Linked DNA regions of Homo sapiens: all the other regions are linked to region 1. The links are contacts of gene promoters, found by promoter capture Hi-C in blood cells and fetal thymus (Javierre and others, 2016). All regions are on one chromosome and are shown on one strand. Each heading gives the region's core, a stretch centred on a gene start or on the middle of the fragment in contact. The rest is flanking DNA. Distances are from core to core; before and after follow the strand shown. Region 1 holds the start of SEMA3D (semaphorin 3D). Region 2 has its middle 110 kb from the start of LINC00972. Region 3 has its middle 100 kb from the start of SEMA3D.

What was found. Contacts are between HindIII fragments. The CHiCAGO score rates a contact against its expected background, and 5 or more counts as called.
Region 2: a fragment that was not itself captured here is called in contact with the fragment with the promoter of SEMA3D in region 1 in 2 of 17 cell types (total B cells and naive B cells); the score reaches 6.3 in total B cells.
Region 3: a contact is called between a fragment that was not itself captured here and the fragment with the promoter of SEMA3D in region 1, in 1 of 17 cell types (total B cells). The highest score is 6.1, in total B cells.

Annotation. Positions count from the first base shown.
Region 1 is chr7:85,184,640-85,188,702 of GRCh38, forward strand. SEMA3D (semaphorin 3D) reads right to left here and starts at 2,417. Exons shown (of 19, transcript NM_001384900.1): 1 at 2,039-2,417. RefSeq lists a silencer at 2,229-2,288. The HindIII fragment of the contact is 2,551 bases long and covers 868-3,418 here.
Region 2 is chr7:85,306,835-85,310,897 of GRCh38, forward strand. No RefSeq gene overlaps it. Among named protein-coding and RNA genes, the nearest start is that of LINC00972, 110 kb to the right of the region's middle. The HindIII fragment of the contact is 6,360 bases long and covers 1-4,063 here.
Region 3 is chr7:85,285,735-85,289,797 of GRCh38, forward strand. No RefSeq gene overlaps it. Among named protein-coding and RNA genes, the nearest start is that of SEMA3D, 100 kb to the left of the region's middle. The HindIII fragment of the contact is 3,122 bases long and covers 738-3,859 here.

The DNA.
Region 1 (4,063 bases), core at 1,167-3,666:
TTCCATTTCACAATTGGGCAAATTCCATTGGAAATTTTGGCAATTCGAATCAGTACTGTTTTACTGTCTGTCAGCCCTTGACCCTACTCTTATCTCGTCCCACATCACCTTCCTGTATTTCCTGGCCTTTCCCTTCCAAGAGCCAAGGTCATTGCCCATCTCCCTGACCAGGGCCATCACTTTGCGCCTGTCAGCGATGGCACCCCTGACCCGTCTTATCCGCTGGGGCGAGTCTCAGAGACTCTAAGACCCGACTGGGTTAAAGCAGTGGCCAGCTGGGGCTGATCACTCCCAACCCCGATCTTCTTGCTCATCCTCCTTGCTGTCTGGCCTCGGAGAAGGAAAAGGAGAAGGGAGGGCATCATTGGAGTGATGACATGTGTGTCTTCTTGCTCATCCTCCTTGCTATCTGGCCTCAGAGAAGAAGGAAAAGGAGAAGGAAAAGGAGAAGGAAAAGGAGAACAAAAAGGAGAAGGCAAGGCATCACTGGAGTGATGACATGTGGCTCTCTCCCTTCTCTGCCCTTCACATTTTTCTTTCCACGTGCAGAACTGGGAAGGCTCTGACCACCCCTGCCCCCGCGGTTGCCATGGTTACACAATAGCAGCAGCACCAGACCCAGGAGATGTCTCAGACCTCTCCTCTACCTCCGCCTCAACCCTTCCCTCTCTGTTAGGAGATCCTCCCCCTCGTCTCTGCGCGCCCCCACCCCGCCATCCCCCGCTAGCGCACACATGCAGGAGAACCCTTTTTAGGCTAAACCGGAAAGTTTAGGTCTTCTCCCCTCTTCTTTTGCTTGTGCAAATAGCACTAAGCTAAACGGAAAGTGGTGGGGTTTTGGTGATGAAATAAGAGTCCACGCACAGAAGCTTGCCTTTTATTACCGCTTCGCTCGAGGCGAAATCGCTGAAAGTTCGGCTATTTAACTCCTGTCCCCATAACTCGGAATCCCGGACACCAGCGGCCCCAGCTGCTGGCGCGCGGCTCTCTTCCAGTCCCCTGGATCCCAAAGCTCCCTGCCACAGCGCGGCGTCTCCTCCTCCTGTCAACTTCCCTCCTTGCACTGTGACGGAGGCAAAGCAACTCAGCCCAGGAGGTTGAACTCGAGTCATCAGAGAAGGAGAAACAGTGCCGAAAACGGCCCGTGCGCTACCAGGGTAGCCCATTAACGCATTAACTCCAGGCTCGTTGGGCAGAAGCCGGGAGGAAACACCCTGGGGACCGCACTCCTGGTTAAATGCCCAGCACGAGTCAAATCCGGCCTTTCCAAAGCGAGCCAAGCCCACTACTACAAAGAGATCCCCCGAGTGTTTTGCCTTAACCACATTTCAGACAGCCAGCTTTGTGGCTGCTGTTTGACTCCAACTTTCCCTCTAAATCTAAAAGGATGCACACTTCCATCAGACGGAACGTCGCGATTCCCCGGCGAAGAAAAAGGCGTCGCCCATTCCTCTTCCAAAACGCTACAACAAAAACCACCACGCTTCCCTTCCTTCTTCCTTGCCCCTTTCCCTTCTCCCAGACCAACAAGGAAAGGAGCGAGCGAGGGCGCAGATGCCCTTTGGTCAAGTACTCCCCGGATGTTCCCGACTAAAGCGTCTCCAAATGAACCTGCAGCCTGCGGAAGCCGGGGACACATTCATAGACGCTCTCTGCTGCCCAGACCAGGAGGGGTGGTGGGGGAACCAGGAAGCCAGGGAGAGAGCAAAGTTCCTGGACGCGTCTCAGGAGGAAAACTTTGTGCAGTGCTGCCAGGCGGAGGCTCGTCAGAAGGCTCCGCAGCTGCTGAGGCGGGGTGGGACTGCGCCCCAGGGGCCGCGCTGAAGCTGGCGCCGCGATTACTGCGCACCGATTTCGCCCACTCTCTGTCCGCTCCCGGGAGCCTTCTCTGTCTCAGGACGGTTCCTTATCTCCCAAACCATGCTCGTCCTCCACTTCGGACCCACAGCCACCCCCAAATCCCGGCTATCCCCGCTTAGCACCGCGGTCTCCAGCACACCCTCCCACTGGAGTAGCAGGTGACCCAAACCAGACTTACCTGCTGTGAACTCTTCTCTCCCTCTCTCTTTTCCTGGTGCCTTTTCAGGGAGAGGGGAACGGGATGCAGGCTGAGGTCCAGCGGCGCGGCAACCCGGGGCACCGGCGCGCGTTCCTCTGAGCCGCAGCCCTGGCTGAGCAAGCGGAGCCGCCGGCAGCCCTGGCAGAGCCGGGAAGCTGCGGCCGCAGGGGCCAGGCCGGGAGGCAGGGGGCGCTGCTGCCTCCCCCGAGAGCCGCGCTAGGACAGGCGGAGAGCAAGGCACCAGCTGGAGCTTTGGGGAGGAGAGGGTGGCGAGGAAAGGCACGCTCCAAACAGGAGGGCGGCTTTTAAGTTTGTGGTGTGACCGCAGCAGCTGTCCTGGGAGAGACTCAGTCTTTCTAAAAAGAGGATGCTGAAAACGCCGGGGATTACCTTTCCCCTTCCGATCTCCTCCCCCAGCCCTCGCCCCCTCCTTCCACTGCGCACGCCAGAACTCCCAAGCGTGCAGAAGTTCATCCCTGCTGCGCGGAGGCTGCCAGCAGCGTGGATTTAGAGGTAGCCCTGGCCAAGCGCTGACGGATGTTTATCAGGACAGGGCACCCTATGTGTAAAGCAACCTCTAACGTCTGATCTTCCTTCTGGGTGACTTGGGGACTTCTTTAGTTCCTTCTCTATACCATAAAACCTGTTAAGGGACCCCATGAGGAAGAAACAGGGAGAGTGACCACAAACACCGTCCTAAAAATGCTAATCCCACAAAACAGTACCTGCGTTCCACTATGTAAAACCTCAATCCACGGTTAATGGCCTTGACAAGGCAGGCATAGGGATGAGGAACAGGGATCAACCCTCCGTTAAGGGGCTGGCACCCGATTAAGACCAAACAGGGAGAGATAAAAACGAGTAGAATGTAATCCTTTCTTCCTCTTTCCCTTACGCCAGACCTACAAAGAGGTGTGCCTCATATCCTTGTCTTCGGGAGTTTTTTAGATTTTTGCACCCCTTATTCACACAGTAGGAACTTAGAAGTATATAATGACGAGAAGATCTAAGTTTTGATGAACCTGGATCCTATGCAATTGGAATAGAGGATCCTCTTTAAGCAAAAGTAATGCAGAAATATCTCACTTCTACAGATTCTGCAAAAATATATGACAATGAGAGTTCATGAGGCCACCGTCAGGGACATTAAAAAGGCCTGTGCATTTGGTGAGCCCTGTACGTTAGGCATTTTTAGCTGCATGGTAAATCCTTTGTGATGGGATATCCAGGTTTATAGTCACACACCTTGCCCTTAGTCCCAAACATAAATCTGACATGAGGTAGAGACATGGAAAGCAAGCAGCCACGGGATCCTGCATTTGTCAGCTTGATTTAAGAGCACAAGGTGTAGGGTCCCAAAGCTTCCTTAGCAAGTAACAAGAGATATCTTGATTTGGAGATGGTGAACAGACAAATGCAGTAATGGAATAACTGAAAGGGGTGGAAGACATTCTTCATTTGACCTTTTATCTGTGGCAGAGGGCTGAGGGCCACAGAAGCTAAAGGAGTCATTTTAAGTTATAAATGGTTGATGGCAGAGTCAGGCTAAGGAAAGGCTCAGGTTTCTCAAATCTGACCAAGGCTCTTTCTTGTGTCTCATGCTGCCCCATCTCTATAACCTTGGTTTGGACTCACAACCAATCAACCCCATAAATACCCTCTTTGGATAGAGAAAAAAATTTTAAATCCTCGTAGACTATTTCAAACTATAGCAACTTTTATTTTTTTTCTGAATGCTTTATATTTAATGTTATACCACTCATTCTGTACATAGTCATGCAATTGTTTATTGTATGTTTCTATGTGTTTATATTATTTTCATTTGTATATGTCATTGCACTTCCATGCAAATTGCAATGTCATTGTGCAAATAAAATATCTCTTTTTTTCTCCCGTATATGGTGGGTTTATAGTAAGTAGTTTTTGATTTTTAGAAAATCTCTATTTTTAAACTTTTAAATAATTTTGTCAGTTTATTGGCCAGAATTTTGTGTTTAACTAGAA
Region 2 (4,063 bases), core at 733-3,232, 120 kb after region 1:
CATCTAAAACTATATGGGTATAGTCCATTGCAAATGCGATAATTTGCCCTGGATAATTAAATTGACTTTGTGTTCATAATTTTTTTCTTTTCTTTTTAAATCTAGACTATGTTCTACATTATTGAAATACATCAGACCACTGTAATGGACAAACACCACAGCAATTTTGAAATTCATATTAAAGATATCTAAATAATGATACTCAAATAATAATGTTATCAAAATATAATCATTAAGTAGAAAGTTATATATCAGAAGCCCTCTTTTGTATATAATTTTTAATCATTCATTTTCTTCACAATATTTTGAGAACAGGGATTTGGGGTTTCTTTTGTTTACCATGTTGTGTTTTTGTTTTTTTTTTTTTTTTTTGAGATAGAGTCTCGCTCTGTCGCCCAGGCTGGAGTGTAGTGGCACGATCTCGGCTCCCTGCAAGCTCCGCCTCCCGGGTTCACGCCATTCTCCTGCCTCAGCCTCCCGAGTAGCTGGGACTACAGGCGCCTGCCACCACGCCAGGCTAATTTTTTTGTATTTTTAGTAGAGACGGGGTTTCACTGTATTAGCCAGGATGGTCTAGATCTCCTGACCTCGTGATCCACTGGCCTCGGCCTCCCAAAGTGCTGGGATTACAGGCGTGAGCCACCGCGCTCGGCCTTGTTTACCATCTTAAGCACAGTGCCTTTGACAGTGCCTGGCTCACAGTAAGCGTTCCTAAATATGTTATTTGTATTTTCAGTGGCTTCAAGATACAACCCAGCTTAATAAACTATTCAACTTGTTTTTAATAAGCTAGAATAATAAATGAAAAATCTTGAGCAGCTTCAGATAAGAATAATCTTAAAATAAAGTTGGAAGTGGGGAAGATAATTAACAATTACTAAAAATTTACTTTGTGTTAAATATCATCTTAGAAATATCCTCCCCTTACTTAGTATGCTCATTTTTTTTTACCATAAAAGAGTTAATATAACCTCATTACACTTCTCTAAACTTAATATGCTCATTTTTTACCATAAAAGAGTTAATAAAACCTCATTACACTTCTCTAAACTTAGAGAAGTGATGTGCTCAAAGAAATGCCAGGATTTAAACATTCTAGGTTTTCTAATTCTAAATGTATATTTCTTTTTACTATAATTCAAACTATGCTGGCATTAGAGTTATATTTGCACTGAATGTTAAAAATTTATTTCAATTTGTTCTCCACTTAATATTAATTTATACTGAAATTGGTAGTTTACACAGTATTTTGCTATAGAGTAGTTTATTTGGTCTTAATGATTAGTTGTGGCAGACACTGTTGATGTCCCACCTAAAACTACTTGGACATCACAGTTCTTGAAAGTTTCACTGTAGGATCTGTAGCTCTATCCCTGAGGGTTTTCTTTGGCTACCAGAACCACGTAATCGGTATATATAGGACAGGGCAGAAGAGGCAGGATGGTAATGTCCCTGGAAATAGCTCTCAAGCAGTAACTAATAGGAATTAGTAGATAACTAGTCCAGTTTCCTATCTGTGAGCAATACAGCAGCTCTGCACATGTTCTACAGGGTTTCCTAGAGTTCCTCAACTGCCCACAGCAGTCATCTGCTCCATAATACAGCCTTTATTGACTCATTCCCTTTCCTTTCTCACCTCCTATTCCAAACCAGTGCTTCCTGGGATTATCTCTGAAATTAGCTTTCATTTAAATGCTTACCTCTAGTTTAGAATACAACCTCCCCTACAAATGAGGAGAGACGAGGTAAGGTTAAGAGATTATTTATCCTTACTCATTAATGGGGAATCAACTATCAAGTTTAACCTGTGTTTTTTGTCTCTACATGCATCTTACTTTCTGTGGCAATTTTCCAGTTTATTTTCTGGGCCTTCCTAGTATGGGTGGGGGTGGTGGAGATCGGCTCTCTGTTACTGCAGCTGTGTAATAGCTTCTTCCTCTATTCCACATGCACAAAAGCAGAGAGGCCAAATCAGTGGTGTTGGTCTCAGCTTGGGACAAATGTACATTCCATGTGGACTTTATGTTCCACTTGAATTAAAGCAGTTTGGTTACAGATAATATCAGTTTGGGGATTTTAAATTTAGACTTTAAACAAAGCAGAATTTTTCTGATTAGCATGCTAAAACTATACTCACTTGTAATAAACAATTACTAAGGGTAAAATATACAAATTGTGAATTGTATTTTAAGCAAAATATCTCACTCATTCAAAAGCACATTGTGGGTCTAAAGGGATTAGGTTTATGCCAGTCATTGTTTTGTCTCCATTTTTGCTCCATGGCCCTCTGTTTGCAATGGCTGCAGTTCCCTCTTTCTGTCTGCACTAACAGAAGACACCTTTTGACTCTCCCCTCACGTAACGCAATATCAACTTCACAATCATGATTATTCCTAGACATGATGCTTTGGTTTTGCTGCTTCTTTTCAAAGTTTTAGTCTTCTACCTGTGTGTGTGTGTGTGTGTGTGTGTGTGTGTGTGTGTGTGTGTGTGTGCTCCCTCAATTTATCTCACCTGCTCTTTGGGCTTTTTTATATTCTTTATACTCCACGAAGTGGGTTACCTTGGCCTGCTGCTTCCTCTACTGAACATCCAATTGAATCATGTGATCCCTCTCTCAAAACATCACCAACATCCAAAATCAGGCTGTACTCATGATTTTAATTTTTTAATTTTTTATTTATTTATTTATTTTTATTTTTTATTTTATGAGTGGAGTCTTGCTCTGTTGCACAGGCTGGAGTGCAGTGCTGCGATCTTGGCTCACTGCAACCTCGGCCCCCTGGGTTCACGTGATTCTCCTGCCTCAGCCTCCCAAGTAGCTGGGATTACAGGCACCTGCCACCACAACTGGCTTATTTATTTATTTATTTATTTATTTATTTATTTATTTATTTATTGAGATGGAGTCCCCCTCTGTCGCCCAGGCTGGAGTGCAGTGGTGCAATCTCAGCTCACTGCAAGCTCCACCTCCCGGGTTCACGCCATTCTCCTGCCTCAGCCTCCCGAGTAGCTGAGACTACAGGCACTCGCCACCACGCTGGCTAATTTTTTGTATTTTTAGTTGAGACAGGGTTTTGCCATGTTGGCCAGGCTGGTCTTGAACTTTTGACCTAAGCCTCTCAAAGTGCTGGGATTACAGGCATGAGCCACCGTGCCCAGCCAACTTTTCAATTTTTCATGTTTAATTTTTGTGTACACTCTCTCTCTCTCTCTCTATATATATATGGTGCATGAGATGTTTTGATACATGCATGCAATGCATAAAAAACACATCTTGGGAAAGGGGGTCTCCATCCTCTCAGGCATTTATCCTTTGTGTTAATTTGAAGGGTTTTTTGTTTGTTTGTTTCTGTCTCTAATTTGTTTATTCCAGTATCCAGCTTGCTCTCTAATCATATCCCTCAGGATTCATGTTGATCATTGTACTTATCATTAGTTGACATTAAATTGTTTATTCACCAATTTATTTATTTTTTCTTTCCTCCTGTATGTGAATCTAAGTTCCAAGAGAGCAGGAATGAGATGAGATGTTTTGTTTATTGTTTTCGATTATATCCTGAGGTCTTGGCACATGTTCTGCCTCAAAGTAAATACTTGAATATTATTTGAACAAAAATGCCTCTTGCTTGGGAAAAATTAAATAAAATTTTAATTTTAACATTTAAATATTAATATTAATATATTTAATTTTAATATTAAAAATCTTCTTCTTAGAAAATATTACCCTTTGTATTTGAGCATTAAAATACTGACTTCCTAGGCTGAGGTGGCAGATCTCTTGAGCTCAGGAGTTTGAGACCAGCCTGGGCAACATACTGAAACCCTGTCTCTACAAAAAATACAAAAGTTAGCAAGCATGGTGTCGCATGCCTGTAGTCCCAACTACTTGGGAGGCTGAGGAGGGAGGATCACTTGAGCCCCAGAAGCAGAGGTTGCAGTGAGCCATGATTGCTCCATTGCACTCCAGCACAGAGTTGGAGTGCTCTACACAGAGTGAGACTCTGTCTTAAAAACAACAAAAACAAAACAAAAAGAAAAATGAATTAAAAAAAAGAAAGCC
Region 3 (4,063 bases), core at 1,049-3,548, 100 kb after region 1:
AAAGAAGGCTGGAAGATCACCAAGAGCTGTTTATACAACTGGAACCATTCCATCTCAACTCCAGTGAAGCAAACAACAGTGAAAGGGTCCTCTATTCCAATCACCCAATGAAAACAATATGAAGTGGACATCTTGGGAAGTAAATCACCAGGAACATTAAGACATCAGGGAGTGAACGTTTTTTAAGTAGTTCAATTAATCAATTTTTACTGTTTATCTCTAGTGTTTGCTGTGGGATCCATTGCTTTCCTAGCCTATGTTAGCCAAAATGTTGATGTGCTATCCATAAGAAAGTGAGAGAAAATCGTATGTAGGTTACAACACAGTAAAATCTTCTTTTTCTTATTACATGCTTCATTGAGTAGGCTCTTCTTTACCTGTTTTCATAGCCTTCTAAAGTTCTGTGTGTCTAAAGTTTCCAAACACACAAATTATGTAATCAATATTTCCTATATAAAAATAGCTTATATAACATCTGAAATGGATATATTTTCTAAATAAAAAATCAGTTAAAATGAGGATTTTGGACTGTTTTTCAATTCTACTTCTAACTTAATTTTCCATGATATTTGTGTCATTTGGATCTTTATAATTCTTATTATAAGCATATTCTTTGTTAATAATGTTATTTTTTAACTGGACTGGGAATAATGAAAGGATTTTATGTTTGTCTACTTGGGAAAACTGCACCTTGACAAACAGAAAACAAAGGCAAAATTGTACTGTACTAAATATTAAGCTTTATATCCAACATACTATTTCAAAAATGGAAAAATAGTTAAAAGTTAGCTATTTCCAAGTAGATTATATATGCCAAGGATGAAGAAAGCAGTTGGAAACTCTGCAGCTCTGAAATGTTGTTGTGATTAGCAGGAAAACACAACAAAGTGCTCACATCAGTGTTCCTTAATCAGTGACTCAGAACAAACACGTTGGCCATCAGATTAACAGACTTTTCCACAGGCAGATCCAGTAAATACAGAAGACTGAAACGATCCAAAGATAAACTATAAAACTAAAAATTGCTGTATGTGGCCTCCAGTTATTTTATTCTCTATGCTCGCTAGACTATTTACCAGGATTTTTTTTCTTATTAAGGGAAGAGTAAGCAATACATCTCTGAAACATGTGTCAGTAGTTTAAAAATGTGCAAAGCAAGGCAAAGGTGTGATTCCACTTCCACAGCGAAAAAGCATGCATTTCAAACTTATGAAAAAAATTTCAGCCATGTATGAAACTTGTCACCCAGACATTGATTCGTTCCTTCTTATTCCTCATATATGCATGCATAACATCATCAAGATTTTTTAATGATAGACGTATACCTTATGATTGTTTTCATAATGTATTCTGCAAAACATGTTTTTTACTCTCATATGATTCCTCAAGCAACAGTACAAATAGGGATACTAGGAAATCTTAACATAACACAGATTGCTGCCAAATTGTCAGCTGTTGCTGGATGAATGGTGAGACTGAGACACATTTTTACCGCCTCGGGCTAACCGTTTTAGATGACACATCTGTATACAGTTGTCCAGTTAATACTAGTATAAGTCTTCACTGTTGTCATAAATAATATAACTAAGAAAACTAGAGGTGCAGTGATGCCTTTCCTCTGGAATGTAATGTGAGGATTATAACCAGGATAGTTACCCTGTTGATCAGTCACAACCCTAAGCTCGTCCCTGGGGACTGCTGAAAGCATTTCCAATTCTTCATGTCTTAAGTATGTAATCATATCCTAGAGACTTCAGTTACATACTGATAACAATTGCTTCTTTTCTAGAAGGCAAACCACACCAACCATAGAAGAGGAGAATTAAAACTTCTATCCATAAATTTCACATGCAAACACATGACAATGATTGTATTGAAGGTTGTCATCTGCTGTCATTGTCAGTAGTCTCATCAAGGGACAACTGCTAGTCTTGCACTCCAGAGGCCTTTTAACTTTTAAATTTGTGATTTCACACTTGAGACAAATCTGCTGTCATTTAAAAAGACAAATGCAAATTCTAAAGAATTAATTTCCCTGTAAATACAAATGAAGAGGTGTCCTTAGCCTCATTATTTTGTAGACTTTTAAAGAGGATCTCCTACGATTACTGGAAAATTGCAAGTAAACGTGATGGTAGAATACATAAAAATTCCAATTTTTTTGAAATATAAGTTAAATGAGAAACAAATAGTCTTATAAATTATATTTTCTAGTACCTTTGCAAATGCCACTGTATGACATTTTCATTCATGTACATTTCTTATAAAATAAAATTGAAAGCCTAGCCCTCATAGAAAATTGGAGTGAAAACTTCCAGTCTATTATCAGAAAAAATAATTAGTTAAGGAGTTTAGGTAATTGTGATTTGATTCTGGATGATTTCTATAATTGTATCAAGTTATTTTTTTTAACTCAAAATGTATGTTGAACTAGTTTCTATAAAACATCAGCTGTTCTTGGTAAAATAATTCATAATAAAGACAAATTACCATATTTTTCAGTGACGTGCCCGTAACTCTGCAAACTAATTTAAAATGTATTTAATACTGGTAGGAACCAAACAAAATAGCATAATTTATGAGTTTCTGATTTTTATATTAAAAAGTTTATTTAATTTATTGTATCATTATTGTTATATGTGAACATGACTTTTAGAGATTTTAGGCTCATTTTTAAACTTAGGAATAAAGAAGGCTATATAATAGCCATATTTTGAAAATGCAGAGATTAGGAATTCTAATCTCATCCCTTCTTTGAAAAAGTCTATTTTTTAGTCTTTACCTCAGTTTTTACATCAGTACTATATATAAGGCATTAATAATTTAACTTGGTATTTTTTAGCATATTCACTTACCTGATTTACAGACATTTTAAATACAGAATTTCTTTATAATAACCTACTCATTCTTTATGAACGAATAACCAATGTAAAATAAAAACAGATCCATTAGGAACAATTCTTATTTGAACTATCATGCTACATAAATCCAGTAATAAACAGCCCTTAGAAAGGCTAAGTAGGGACTGAAACTCTACTTCCAGATGGGCAGACATTTATTTCTGTTGATTCCTCACTTTTTCCGGGCAGTTCCTTTTACCTATCACTCCTCTTATCAATGTCACCGGACCTACTTCTTGATTTTTTACTTTGCTCTAAGCCTGGTGGAAGAGGAGTACTTTTGTAGCCAATATGGAAATAGCATCCTCAAGTACACGTCACTGTCTTTGTATTAAGTGTATCCTCAGCCCCTAGCCTCTCCCTCACTGTCCATCCTCCAGCTTTTCTCAGCTTTTCATATCCAGATCTCTAACTACTGCCCCTTTGGGGGAAATGTCCATGTTAACTGCAGTTGGTTTTCCACATATGTGCAGATGAAAGTCCTTTAGCATTTTGTGTACAAGACAAACAGCACCAATGTGTAACCTTCTATTTTCTTTTATTCCTAGAAGGCTTACAGGAAAATAAAGTTGGGAAGGCAGGAGGGCAGGCAAAGTTTTACGTTTATTTCTTTACTTTTAGTTGTTATTTACTCTGAGAGAACAAATTCTTTTTTGTTTGCTTCAAACATCAAAGTGCAAGAGAGTAAGCAAAAGTGTGTTTGAATTCTTTGTTAGAGCAGGGAAGTACATATTTTTTTTTTTTTTTTTTTTTTGCACGTGGGTGATGAGCTATAGAGAAAGGGGATTCCTGTGGTTCATAAAAAGGAATAAAAGAGTCATTAGCATTCTGGTAAGCACTGCTGTCTCCCGGGTACATGAGATAAAGGGCAGATAGGCATTAAAATACAAGAATGAATCAGCTACCTCCGTTTCTTCCCCATCTGTGTGTCCCACATCAACCTGTTATGTGACTACTGAAGCTTTCTATTCTTCAAATACCCAAAAGTCATTCTTTTTCCTGAGCATTGGCTACCAGCACCTCAATACGTCTCCTAGGCTTGCCTGGCTGGAGCTCCCATGCAAAGGATTTGAGGACCTTGATTAGTGGTTTTTAGTGGGGCTCTTCTATGTTCTGTTGCTCAGAAATGGAGGTGGTGGGAATGAGTTCCAGGTTCAGTCATA